2 separate regions of the Homo sapiens genome follow, and region 1 is linked to region 2. The links are contacts of gene promoters, found by promoter capture Hi-C in human tissues and cell types (Jung and others, 2019). All regions are on one chromosome and are shown on one strand. Each heading gives the region's core, a stretch centred on a gene start or on the middle of the fragment in contact. The rest is flanking DNA. Distances are from core to core; before and after follow the strand shown.

Region 1 (6,916 bases), core at 422-2,921, 110 kb after region 2:
AAGTCATAAAACACATAAGCAAACAAAATTAAGCTTCAGAGAGGGAGAAGGGCAATCAGTCTCCAAAGTTGCTATATTACCAGAAATGTCCTCATTTCCAACAAAATATTATAAGACATGCAAAAAAACAGGAACATGGACCCATACACAGGAAAAATGTAGGCAACAGAAACTGCCTGTGAGAAACTCCAGATGTTATACTTAATAGACAAAGTCTTCAAAGTATGCGTTATGAATATGTTTGGAAAACTAAAGGAAGCCATGCTTAAAGAAATTATAAAAGATAGGAAGATCATGTTTCATCAAATGGAGAATATTAATAGAGATAGGAACTATAAAAAAACAAAAGTTCTGTGGTTTAAAAGTGTAATAAATAAAATGAAAAATTCATTAGAGGGGCTCAACAGTAGATTTTAACCAGCAAAAGAAATACACAGTGAACTTAAAAATAGATCAATAGAGACCATGCAATCTGAAGAACAGAGTAAAAATAGACTGAAAAAAATGAGCAGAGCCTCAGAGTAATGTGGGACACCTTTAGACACACAAACACACATGTAACAGAAATACTGGGAGGAGAGAAGAAATGAACAGAAATAATATTAGATGAAATAATGGCTGAGGCCAGGCATGGTGGCTCATGTCTGTAATCCCAGCACGTTGGGAGGCCAAGGCAGACAGATCACCTGAGGTCAGGAGTTCGAGACCAGCCTGGCCAACATGGTGAAACCTCATCTCTACTAAAAAAACAAAAACAAAAACAAAAATTAGCCAGGCATGATGGTGGGCACCTGTAATCCCAGCTACTCAGGAGGCTGAGGCAGGAGACTCGCTTGACCCCAGGAGGCAGAGGTTGCAGTGAGATGAGATCACACCACTGCACGCCAGCCTGGATGACAGAGCGAGACTGTCTCAAAAAAAAAAAAAAATTGTAGCTGAAAACTTCCAATTGCTGAAAAACATTAATCTGCATATCCATGAAGCTCAGCAAAGTCTGATTAGGATGAATACAAAGACAGCCACACCCAAACACATAATAAAAATGCTGAAAGCCAAAACCAAAGATAAAATCTTGACAGCAACAAGAAAAAATTACATGCAAGGGAACCCCAATAAGATGAACAGCTGACTGCTTAGTAGTATGACACACTTAAAGTGCTCAAAGAAAAATATTAACCATGAGTCTTATATTCAGTAAATGTATCTTTCAAAAATGAAGGTAAAATACAACCATTCCCAGATAAACAAAACTTGAGATAATTTACTGCTGTCAGGTTCACCTTATAAGAAATATTAAAGGAAATCAGTCAGGCTCAAAGCAAGTAAACCCAGATGAAAATTTGAACCCACATTAAAAAAAGAGCCCTGTTAAAGGTAGTTATGCAATTATTAATAAATAAACAAATGCATATTTTCTTCTTTCTTCTCTTACCTGATTTTAAAAGCAATTGTATGAAACAGAATGTATATATGTATACATATGTATATACATGTATACATATGTATGACACTAACATATAGGTATTGTTAGGCCTATACATGTGACATGTTTGACAATAACAGCACAAAGGAGTGGGTAGGTACTGGAGTAAGGAAATGATCCCAGATGGTAACTCAAAACCACAGGAACCAATAAAGAGAACAAGAAATGATAAATAAGAAGGCAAATATAATAAGCTAAAAAATATTTACTTGCTCTCTATACAGAAGTGTCCATATATAAAGTAGCAATTATAACAGTGTATTGGTAGGTTTTTGACATATTCTGATGTAATATGTATAACAATAGTAGCACAAAAAGGAAAAGAGGACATAGAGTTTTCTAGAAGTAACATTTCTATAGTTCACTGAAATTAAATTAGAAGAACTCTAAGTAGATTCTGATAAATTGAGACTCTATGGAAGCCCTAGACCAACAACCAAAGAAATGACTCAGAAAATATAGAGATTTGGAGTACTTCTGGTTCCAAAATCATGGTGTAGAAGTAAGCTGGCTTCACCTCCTCCCACAGAAAACTAAAAACAAATAGACAGCATGGACATTATCACCAGCAATATCCCAGAACTCAAATATCAGGAGAATATATGTGGTTCCCTGGGCCACAGAGAAGTGAACAAACTCTGAGCAGATAGTAAGAAAATTGGATTTTCATATCCACAATGTCCCTCCCCACAATCCATCCAGCACCTAGCCATAGAAAATTTTCCCCAACTCACAGTTGGAAAAATACTGGAAAAAATAAGATCAAGGTGGTAAACCAACTTCCTCATCCTCTTGGGTTCACTGGCAGGAGACCCATTTCTGTTTCAACCATGGGAAGTATCAGGAGTGCCTGAAAGAAGAAAGATCACTGAGGATAGCCAGAGACAAAAGAGGGAGGCTAGACTACTAGCCCCAGCCTTGGAAACTTAACCCTGTAACTTGATCAAAGGAGACACCAAATCACAGTGGCTGTTCACCAGCACCATGCTGTAGGAGGTTCATCCCACAGGTCCCCTGGGCATGAGCCTATAGCCAGCAGTGCCACACTACTGAGTCATCCCCTTTGAGACCTCCCCTATTTAAGACCAGTGACACTAATTGTCTATTAGAACTGAGGCAAACCTGGGCTTAAGGCACCATCTAGTACAAAGAAGGAGGCAGAAACCTAGCAGAAAAAAAAAGAAAGAAAATCAATGGGTAAACTACAAAGAATCTCTGAGGAAACATATCCAATAAACAACAAAACGAGGCTGATTAGACTGGGACAAATAACTAAGCCTTCAATGCAAAGATATAGGCATACATCAACAAGAAACAACAGCAAACAGGGACCCATGATTTCTCTAGATTTACAAAGCAAGAAATCAGAAACTGACCCTAATGAGATGGCAATATGTGAACTCTCTGATCAAAAATTCAAAATAGGCCAGGTACAGTGGCTCACCCCTATAATCTCAGCACTTTGGGAGACCAAAGTGGGAAGATCACTTGAACCCAGGAATTTGAGACCAGCCTGGGCAACATGGTGAGACTTGTCTCTACAAAAAATTTTTAAAAATTAGCTGAATGTGGTGACACATACCTGTGATTCCAGCTGCTCAGAAGTCTAAGGTAGAAGGATTGCTTAAGCCTGCAAAGTCAAGGATAGAGTGAGCCATGATCATGCCACTGCACTGCAACCTGGGTGACAGAGCAAGACCCAAATAAAACTACTCCAATGCATAATCAAACCCTCAAAGGTCAAGGACAAAGAGAGGATCCAAAAAGTAACAAGAGAAAATAAGCAAATAACATACAAAGAAAACCCAATTTGTCTGGCAACAGATTTCTCAATAGGAACCATATAGGCCAGGAGGGAGTGGTATAACATTTTCAAAGTGCTGAAAGAAAAAAAATAACTGTCAGCTAATAATACTATATCTAGCAAAGCTGTCCTTCAAGTATGAAGGAAAGATAAAGTCGTCCTCAGACAAACAAAAACAGAATTCACCACCATCAGATCCATCTTCCAAGAAATGCTAATGAGAGTTCTTCAATTTGAAAGAAGAAAAACACTAACGAACAGAATGAAAACATTTCGATGTATAAAACTCACTTGTAAAACTAAGTATACAGACAAACCCAGAATACTCTAATACTCTAATTGTGGTGTGCAATCCACTCTTAACTCTAGTATAAAGCCCAAAAGACAAATCTATCAAAAACAACAATAGCTATAGAAACCTGTTAAGAGATAGGCGTCATATGTAAATTGAGACAACATAAAGTCAAAACGTTGAGAGAATGGAGTTAATTTGTAGAGTTTTAAAAAATGTTTTATTTGTTTCTATTCTTCTCTGTGTTCTCTCTCTCTCTCTCTCTCTCTCTCTCTCTCGACAGGGTCTTATTCTGGCCCCCAGGCTGCAGTGCAGTGGTATGATCATGACTCACTGCAGCTTTAAATTCCAGGGCTCAAGTGATCCTCCTACTTCAACCTCCCAAGTAGCTGGATTACAGGCACACATCACCATGCCTGGCTAATTTTTTAAAAAACATTTTTTGTAGAGACAGGGTCTCACTGTGTTGCCCAGACTGGTCTCAAACTTCTGGACTTAAACAATCCTCCCACCTCAGACTTCCAAAGTATTGAGATTACAGGCATGAACCACTGTGCACAGCAGTTGTCATCTCTTCAAAATAATTTGTTATATATCTATGATTTTTTGTAAGCTTCATGGTAACCATAACGCAAAAACCTATAATAGATTCACTAAAAATAAAAAAAGAATTAAAACATAATGCCAAAGAATATCACTTAACCACGAAGGAAGACTGTAGGAAAGGAAGAAAGGATGCGGAGTTACAAAACAACCAGAAAACAAGCAACAAAATGGCAACAATAAGTCCACATTTAATCAATAATAACATTGAATGTCAACAGACTCAATTCTCCAATTAAAAGGCATAGTGTGGCTGAATGGATAAAGAAATAATACCTAACTATATGCTACCTACAAGAAACTCACCTCATATATGAAAACACACATAGACTGAAAGTGAAGGAGTGGGAAAAGATATTTTATACTAACCAAAAATGCTACACATGCTAACCAAAAAAGAGGAGGAGTATCTACAGTTATATTAGGTTGAATAGAGTACAAATCAGAGACTGTAAAAAGGGACTAAGAAGGTCACCATATGATGATAAAGGGGTCAATTAAGTAAGATAATATAACAATTATAATTATATATGCACCCCATTAACTGTAGCTTCCAAGTATATAAAGCAAACATTAGTAGATCTAAAGGAAGAGAAGGATTGCAATACAATAATGGTAGAGGATTTTAACACCCTACTCTTAGTAATGGGCCAATTATCCAGACAGATAATTCGCAAAGAAACATCTAAGTTAAAAAAATACAGGATATCAATGAAATGAAAAGTTGATTTTTTGAAAAGATAAACAAAATCAACAAAATTTTAGCTAGACTAAAAAAGAGAGAAAGAAGTCTAAATAAATAAAATCAGAAACAAAAAAGAACTCATAACAACTGAGACCACAGAATTACAAAGAATCATTAGAGGCTACTATAAACAACTATATGCCAACAAATTGGAAAACCTAGAAGAAATGGATAATTTCCTGGACACATACAATCTACTAAGATTGAACCATGAAGAAATAGAAAACCTCAACAAACCGAGAATAAGAAACAACATTGAAGATGTGATAAAAAGTCTCGTATTAGAGAAAAGCCCAGGACCTGATGGCTTTACTGCTGAATTCTACCAAACATTTAAAGAAGAACTAATACCCTCTTTTTCTATTGATTGGAATAGTTTCAGAAGGAATGGTACCAGCTCCTCCTTGTACCTCTGGTAGAATTCGGCTGTGAATCCATCTGGTCCTGGATTTTTTTTGGTTGGTAAGCTATTAATTATTGCCTCAATTTCAGAGCGTGTTATTGGTCTATTCAGAGATTCAACTTCTTCCTGGTTTAGTCTTGGGAGGGTGTATGGGTTGAGGAATTTATCCATTTCTTCTAGATTTTCTAGTTTATTTGTGTAGGTGTTTATAGTATTCTCCGATGGCAGTTTGTATTTCTGTGGGATCGGCTTCTGAAACTATTCCAATCAATAGAAAAAGATGGAATCCTCCCTAACTCATTTTATGAGGCCAGCATCATCCTGATACCAAAGCCTGGCAGAGACACAACAAAAAAAGAGAATTTTAGACCAATATCCTTGATGAACATTGATGCAAATATCCTCAATAAAATACTGGCAAACTGAATCCAGCAGCACATCAACAAGCTTATCCACCATGATCAAGTGGGCTTCATCCCTGGGATGCAAGGCTGGTTCAACATACGAAAATCAATAAATGTACTCCAGTATATAAACAGAACCAAAGACAAAAACCACATGATTATCTCAATAGATGCAGAAAAGGCCTTTGACAAAATTCAACAACCCTTCATGCTAAAAACTCTCAATAAATTAGGTATTGATGGGATGTACCTCAAAATAATAAGAGCTATCTATGACAAACCCACAGCCAATATCATACTGAATGGACAAAAACTGGAAGCACTCCCTTTGAAAGCTGGCATAAGACAGGGATGCCCTCTCTCACCGCTCCTGTTCAACATAGTGTTGGAAGTTCTGGCCGGGGCAATCAGGCAGGAGAAGGAAATAAAGGGTATTCAATTAGGAAAAGAGGAAGTCAAATTGTCCCTGTTTGCAGATGACATGATTGTATATCTAGAAAACCCCATTGTCTCAGCCCAAAATCCCCTTAAGCTGATAAGCAACTTCGGCAAAGTCTCAGGATACAAAATCAATGTGCAAAAATCACAAGCATTCTTATACACCAATAACAGACAAACAGAGAGCCAAATCATGAATGAACTCCCATTCACAATTGCTTCAAAGAGAATAAAATACCTAGGAATCCAACTTACAAGGGATGTGAAGGACCTCTTCAAGGAGAACTAGAAACCACTGCTCAATGAAATAAAAGAGGATACAAACAAATGGAAGAGTATTCCATGCTGATGGGTAGGAAGAATCAATATTGTGAAAATGGCCATACTGCCCAAGGTAATTTATAGATTCAATGCCATCCCCATCAAGGTACCAATGACTTTCTTCACAGAATTGGAAAAAACTACTTTAAAGTTCATATGGAACCAAAAAAAGAGCCCACATTGCCAAGTCAATCCTAAGCCAAAAGAACAAAGCTGGAGGCATCACCCTACCTGACTTCAAACTATACTACAAGGCTACAGTAACCAAAACAGCATAGTACTGGTACCAAAATAGAGATATAGACCAATGGAACAGAACAGAGCCCTCAGAAATAGTGCCGCATATCTACAACTATCTGATCTATGACAAACCTGACAAAAACAAGCAATGGGGAAAGGATTCCCTATTTAATAAATGGGGCT
Region 2 (6,936 bases), core at 4,028-6,527:
TGGGGATCAGTCCTGGGCCAAGGGAGCATTCTCGAAGGGTCCACACTCGCCGGGGGGAGAGCGCCTGTGCGGGTCGCAAACACCATCCCCGCCCGGCCTTGCAGTCCGCGCCCAGCAGCGCGGCCGTGCCCACAGAGCCCCGGCACCCAGACGGCTACTTCCTGGCTCTGGGTGTGGCCTCAGGCGCCGCTGGTTCGCGTAACTGGACTCGGATGCAAGGTCTCTGCGGGAGCCGCCGGGGCTGGCGAGCGGTGGGTGTGAAATGGAGGCGGGACCCGTCCAGGGCCTGGAGGGCTGGGAGCGGCGGGCTGGCGGCTCCGCGAGTCCAGGAGCATCGCCTCAGGTTCCTGGACCACTAAGAACCGGGTCATCTCCGGGTCACAGGAGCGAGTTATTTATTTCCTATCTAAGGATCTGTCTTTTATTTTTATTTATTATTTTGGTTAAGAGACGGGGTCTGGATCTGTTGCCCAGGCTTGTGCAGTGGGGCAATCATTGTTCACTGCAGCCTCGAACTGTTGGGCTCAAGGAATCCCCCTACCTCAACCTGCCTAGAAGCTGGGACTACAGGCGCTTGCCACCACGCTGGGCTGTTGGATGTATTTAAACTAACACTTCCATAGAAAATTAAACATTAAAAAAATCAACAACAAAACTTACAAAACAAAAATAAAGTAGCGAATTCCAAAGGAACAAATTTGTAAATTGCTCCAAGAGGGGGAGCTTGGAAAGAGAGGGGGATGTGTCTAAAGGCGCTGTCACCCGAAACACAATTTGACCCCGAGCTTCTAGGGCTTTGAAATGACTCAAAACGAATGCCCACATTTGAGTTCGAAATTTTCATGAAAGAAAGGGTCACAGAGACTGGCTTCTCCAAAGAGAAAGCGAGTTGGTGGTCTCCAGGAGATAATGACCTGTAAGCGTGGGGAGGGGGTAATTTTATAATTCCAAAATTTTCTGTTTTGAAGCTAGAAAAGATGTTGCCAGTCTCGGCTCGGGGCAAAAGCAGGGCGAACGCCGCAGCCCACCCGGACAGGGCGTTCCGGGCGCGGTCCAGGCGGCCTCTGTCGGGCACAGCACACCTGCGGCCAAGGCCGGTGCCCCAGTCCCAGCAGCACCACCAACGCCACCAACAGCCTGCTGGGCCAAGGACAATCAGAACCAAAGGTTTAAAAAAAAAAAAGAAGAAGAAGAAAAAAGAAAAGAGGAAACGAGCTCCATTCCCGGCGCTCGCGACGCGTCCCCAGGGACGGACCGTGTGCTGGGTGGCTGGGCGCGCAAGGCTGCGCGGGGAGCAGAAGGCCGCGAGGTGGGGCGGCCCGGGGCCGCCTGGGCCCCTAGGGGCTGGACGTCAACCTGTTAGATAGAGGGCGTGGGACCCCCCGCAGGCGGCTGCTCGGACGACCGCATCCGGAGGTGAGCTGACCGTTCTGGAAGAAGCCTCCGCTCCACCGCGGCCCCAACTTCGTTTTGCCAATTAAGATGCAGACCCGCTGCAAGTGGGAGCGGAAACAAACTGCCCACGGCTGAGGCGGATGGAGGAGAGCCCAGCGCCCTCCAAGCGATGCACGATCCCCCTGCCGCTGGCTGCTGGCCGCTGAGCCTGCTCGAGTGCTCCTTCCAGACTTAGCTTCCTCCTCTGTACAACGAACGGCTCCTGGACCCGTTCGCACGCGGAGCCATTTCACAATCCCGTCTGGGAGGCGCTGGAGTAGGAGAAGGGTGTGGGTGGAGGGGAGGTGGTTCTGGAACCTACACCTGAATGCTTAGGGGATTCGGTTGTGGGAATGAGGTGGTCCCCTCCCTGTCCCGCAGCCTCCAAAGGGGCTGTAGGGTCTGAGGGGCAGAACATGGGTGGGGAGGGGGCCGGTTCTGCGCTCCGAGGGCCCCTCATCCAGCGACCGGGCGGCGCCGAGGAACCCCTGCCGCCCGGAGCCCCTCGCCGCCCGGCTGCTAGGGAGGGCGGCTGGCCCGGGGCGCTGAGGTCACCTTTTCCACTGCGCCCGCCGCGAGCAGGACGGTTTCCGGGATTTTCGCGGCGGCGGCTAGAGGCCTCGGGAGGGGGTGTGTCCCAGGCGTTGGGCTGGCAGCTGCGCCCCTGGGGTGGGGACTGCAATCCCAGACTGCACCCCACTGGGGAGGAGGCTTCCCCTCTCTGGGCCTCGGTGTCCTCGACAGGGAGGGGGTTCCCCTTCTCTGGGACCCTCTTTTTTCGGCCGCCAACGCGGCAGTGCCTGAGCAGAGGAGGCCCCGCCGCCGCCGCCGTTTTTGTGTAATTTTCGCCTAAAAGGGGTTTATCTGCTGGTTTGCCCTGGGGTCGGGCGACGGGGAGGCTGTGTCTATCAAGAGCCGGGGGATCAGGGACAGACCTACAAGGGAGGTGTTTTGGGCGACCGGGGGCAGGACCCTGGCTCTCTCAGCCCCTGGAGCCAGCTGCGGTCTCCCAAAGTTCCCTAGGCGCTGGGCATTCTCCTTCCAGCCCTCAGGGCCTCATTCCCAAAGCCACCCTCTGCTCATGCTGCAGGGCTGGCCTGGGGCTGCAGGAAATGGTCCTGGCCAGAGTCCAAGGAGCTGGGGGTGCACACCTGTGGAATGGGGTGAGGGCTGGGCTGCACTACTCTTTTGACTCCCCAAAATCTAGAGATGAGGCCTCCATCCTGAAAATGACCCCCTTCCCCACAAGCTGACCAAGAAGCTACCCCAGGGGGATGGCTCATAGTAAAATAAGTTTAGTGACAGCTGATGAACAGTGTGATCCCCAAATCCTTGGATCTGGAATCTGGGGACCCATTTTGAGGATGTGAGACCCTCAGGTCTTGAGCATGGGGCAGAGATGGTTCAAATTTGGGTAGCTTCTGTTAGGGCCCAAATAACAGGGGATGGGACAGAGGCTAGCTGGGCCTACTCAGGGGAGAAACCACCACTAGGCTATGCCCTTAGGGAGATGCAGAAGCCAGGGGGTGAGGAAGGGGCAGGGGCCCTGCTAAGATGGGGGAGGTGAGGGAGGAAGCCGGAAAAAGGAGCTTGATATGGCTCTGTACAAGAAGCAATAGTAAACCAGCCCTACTCACTGGAGTCCCTGCACCAGGGCTGCCTCTTGCTGGGCCTCAGTTTCCCATCTGAAAAAGGAGATGGTTGGATTGAGTGATACTATTGCACTCATCTAGGGAGGGTTCTCTGAGTCTACCCGTTGATAGGGGGAGCCTGACTGGGCTGCCCCAGCCTCCCAGGAGACACTGGCTTGTTTCTATTTGCCAGGTAGGATGTCAGTGGCTGCTTGGCCAACAGCGACAGGGCCAGCTTCCTGGTCTCTTGGTCTCTCAGGAGGAGGCCTGCTCAGTGTGGGATACTGTTGCTCTTAGTGCGCCCCTCTCCACCCTTTCCAAAGAACCATGTAGGCTCACAGCACCACTCTCCGAGGGAGTCCGAAGCAACTGGCGGCCATTGAGGCCACCTTCTTTCAGTCCCAATGGTAACTCTGAGTTCAGAAAGTCATGCAACAACTGGGAAGGAGAGACAGTGGGCTCTTGGGACTGGGATCTTACCAGAGTAAGGTAGTCTTTGTCCTCACTCCAGGCCCTACAGACAAAGGATCTGGGCCACTTCCTAGTCCCCACCTGCCCCCCACCCCCACTCCCGAGTCTGGGGCAGGTGCCAGGGACTGAGGGCCAGCCTGAAGGCCTCCCCACCAGCAGCTGGAGCTGGAGAAAGGACTTCAACTTGGGTGGGGGGCATGGCTGTAGGTGTGGTAAGCCCTAGTTACCTGAGGTAAAGACTGAGGCCCCACATGGAGCTCACAGAGGAAGTCCGGGTGGCCCAGGACACCCCCAGTGCATCAGGCGCTGACTGGCAATGGTGGATGGGGCTAGGAGGTAGGCCCTGTGATTCCTGAGAAGGAGGAGGGCAGATGCTCCTCCCCCAACCTCCTGGGGACACTTCTCCCCTCTTGCCTGGAGGAACTGTTTTCTCTCCAAACAGACCTAAGGGCTCCCAGGGTGCAGGACCCTCGGAGTGCAGGACCCCCTCACTGAGTTCTCACAGTCTCTCTGGAGCCAAAGGTCAGCATCTCCTCAGGACAGGTAAGGAAACAGGCCCAGAAAGGGTCAGTGGTTTCACCAGTAGTGGCAGGACCAAAGAGAGGAGTTCAGCGTAGGGTAGCTTTGGGGTTGTTCACTCCACGGCTTGGGCTTATACTCTTCTAAGGATGGAAAGAAAGATCTAGAGAAGGTACTGCCAACTTCCTCCACCATGTTGGAGCTTTTGAGGCTCCGCAATGGAGCCAGGTCCCACCAGAGTTTGGTCTTTACACTCTCAGAGCACCCACTGGCCCCCTGGCCCCAACTCCGCCCAGTAACAGTTTCTTGATGCCCCAAAGCTGGGAAAAGGCAAAGCTGCATCCTTCCCTTCTCCTCGAATCCTTTTCCTTTTCTAACTAGGGGGATGTAACCAGCCTACAGTCTTCTGGGGGCTGTCAAGGAGGATGTGTCCATGGATCACTTGAATTTCCAATTCAAGCAAATCTCGGCTGGAGAACATTTTTCTCTCAGGGCAGCCCGGAGAGAAATGAGGCCGTACATGGTAAACTGAGGCAGAGGTGGGAGGGGTGCACAGGTGCCGCTACCGCTCTGCCCCTTGCATCCCTGAACGCTGCCTCACCCTTGCCGGGTTGGCGGTGTTGAGCCCGGGACTGGAGGCTGCTTGAGACCACCTCCTTCCCAGCTGAGGAGCGCGGCCTTTGCCCCTCCTCCTCCCGACCTTTCCGGGGCTACCTAAAAGCCGATCAAGCCGCCGGTTTTCTAGCTGTTCCCATTTCTTTACCGCCCCCTTCCTCTGCCCCGCCTGCCTCTGTGCCCTCCGTCACGTCACAGCCCGCTGGCTCTCACGCCTCTTTTGGTCTCTCTGCGCACATCTCGGTGGCGTCTCTGGTGCCCTCACATCACTGTCTGGAATCTTGTTTGGCCCACGCCGTCTGCCTCTGCCCCTTCTCTCACCTGTGTCGTTTGATCCCTCCGACTCTCGTCTCTGGGGGTCTTGCCTCCCGAACTCTCCGGCTCTCTCCTTCCAGGGCGTGCGCTCCGCTCAGTCTCCCTCGGTCTCGGTCGGCCGGCCTCTTTCACGTGGCCCCCTCCTTTTTGGCCTCCCTTCCGCCTCCCTCCCTTCTGGGTCCCTCCCTCCGGCTCAGCCTAGGGGTTGGGGGCGGCGGCGCGGGGCGGGGCGGGGCGGGGCGGTGACGCGGGGCTGGCCGGGCAAGAGGCGCGGCGGCGTGGGGAGGGGGCGCAGTCCCGGGTTCGACCGGCCGAGCCCCGCGCGCCCCGCCCGCGCCCTGCGCCTCCGCCCGGCCGGCCGGCGGGGGAGGGGGCATGAGCCGGCGCCCGCGCGCCGCCCCGAGCTGCGGGCCGGCCTAGAGCCCCGCGCGGGCCCCGCGCCGGAGCCAAGCCGTCGCCGCCGCCGCCGCCAAACCGCGGGCGCAGCAGTGGGCGCCGCGATGCAGCGGCCGGGGGAGCCGGGCGCCGCGCGCTTCGGCCCGCCCGAGGGCTGCGCGGACCACCGGCCGCACCGCTATCGCAGCTTCATGATTGAGGAGATCCTCACGGAGCCACCCGGGCCCAAGGGCGCCGCGCCCGCAGCCGCCGCTGCCGCGGCGGGCGAGCTGCTGAAGTTCGGCGTGCAGGCGCTGCTGGCGGCGCGGCCCTTCCACAGCCACCTGGGTACGTGTGGCGGCCGCGGGGTCGCGGGCCGGGCTTGGCGGGAGACAGCGAGCTGAACCGCGGGGGCGCCCCGAGCCTCCTCCGGCATCGAAGCAGCCCCGGGAAGCTGCTCTGGGAGCGCAGGTTCTGGGACCGTCTCTCGGAGCCCTCCAGGCGGGAGGCGGAGGGTGCAAGCTCCAGGCCTCACAGAAACCAGGCCTCGTGCCCGCGGGCCGCCCGGGGAGGGTGTTCGCTCTTTCCTTCACTGCTTCCCTTCGGCCTCCAGCCCGGGGACCCCGAGTGAGCATCCCCAGTGCAGGCGCACTGCCAGGCTACGGACTCTCGTGGGTGGAAGCGACCTCAGGCCACGGGCGCCTGGGCTTCGCCGCAGAGGGATGGCCGGGAGTGGCCGCGGCTGCCCAACCCAGGGAAGTCGGACCTCTGGGGAGGAGGCCTGCGCTCCCGAGGGCTGGGTGCTGACGCGGGCCCAAGCCGGCCCGGAGTCCCCGGGAGCTCCAGCGGGCGAGGAACGCGGCCTTGGCCGCAGTGCGGACCTGCTTCGGCCTTGCCTTGGGGCCAGAGGCCTGACTGTGAGCAGCTGCCTGGCTGTCCCTTCTGGTTTCAGGTCGGCTGGGCCTCTGCAGGGCTTGAACGGCCTGCGCAGACCTTTTCAGCTTCTGCCCTTTCTTCTAATTTGGCGGGGCCTGCTCTGCCCTGATGGTGCTGTCTCCATCGCACTCCACCCTCGTCTTGTCTTTCCCTATCTCGCTTTCCAACCGTCTGCCGGTCGGCCTCCCTCGCTTCTCTCATTGGGGTCGGCCTGCCTCCCATCTCCCACCTTTTCCCTACGGGTCCTCTGCCCCACATTTACCTGCGCCTTGCCCTGCCCTTTCCGACTCCAGCCAGGCTAGGACTCGCACCTCAGTGACAGGCCTGTCGGGGAAGGGAGGCTCCTACGCTGTAGCCGGGACCCCAGCCCTTCAAGTCGCCTTCCCTGCACCCCCCCACCTCCTAGTCGGTGCTCCCTAGCCTGGAGACGGCAGGGCCAGCGCGCTCCTTCTAAGTCCAGCTGGGACTCGGCCATTCGGCTACCTTTCGTCTCCATCTGCTCTGTTGCTACTAATTCGTTTGAAGCGGGCACACAATCATTTTAGGACTGAAGAAAATGGAAACATCTGCATGGGGAAGCGTCTGAAAATAGAAAACGTGAACAATAATTTCCAGGTTCTCAGGGTACTTTGGAATTTCC

Evidence for each region. Contacts are between HindIII fragments. The study calls those that stand out against the background at their distance.
Region 1: a contact is called between a fragment that was not itself captured here and the fragment with the promoter of BARX1 in region 2, in 2 of the 25 tissues and cell types used here (dorsolateral prefrontal cortex and lymphoblastoid cells).

What each region holds. Positions count from the first base shown.
Region 1 is chr9:93,840,584-93,847,499 of GRCh38, reverse strand. It overlaps LOC101928014 (a long non-coding RNA gene), which reads right to left. Exons shown (of 4, transcript NR_188449.1): 2 at 2,218-2,333. Among named protein-coding and RNA genes, the nearest start is that of MIR4291, 25 kb to the right of the region's middle. The HindIII fragment of the contact is 6,628 bases long and covers 1-4,985 here.
Region 2 is chr9:93,953,696-93,960,631 of GRCh38, reverse strand. It overlaps BARX1 (BARX homeobox 1), which reads left to right and starts at 5,277. Exons shown (of 4, transcript NM_021570.4): 1 at 5,277-5,708. The coding sequence starts at 5,486. It overlaps BARX1-DT (BARX1 divergent transcript), which reads right to left and starts at 4,798. Exons shown (of 2, transcript NR_144455.1): 1 at 3,764-4,798; 2 at 2,710-3,119. LOC124902216 (a long non-coding RNA gene) reads right to left here and starts at 5,106. Exons shown (of 3, transcript XR_007061672.1): 1 at 4,992-5,106. RefSeq lists enhancers at 4,221-4,751, 4,752-5,283, 6,695-6,936. The HindIII fragment of the contact is 32,678 bases long and covers 1-6,936 here.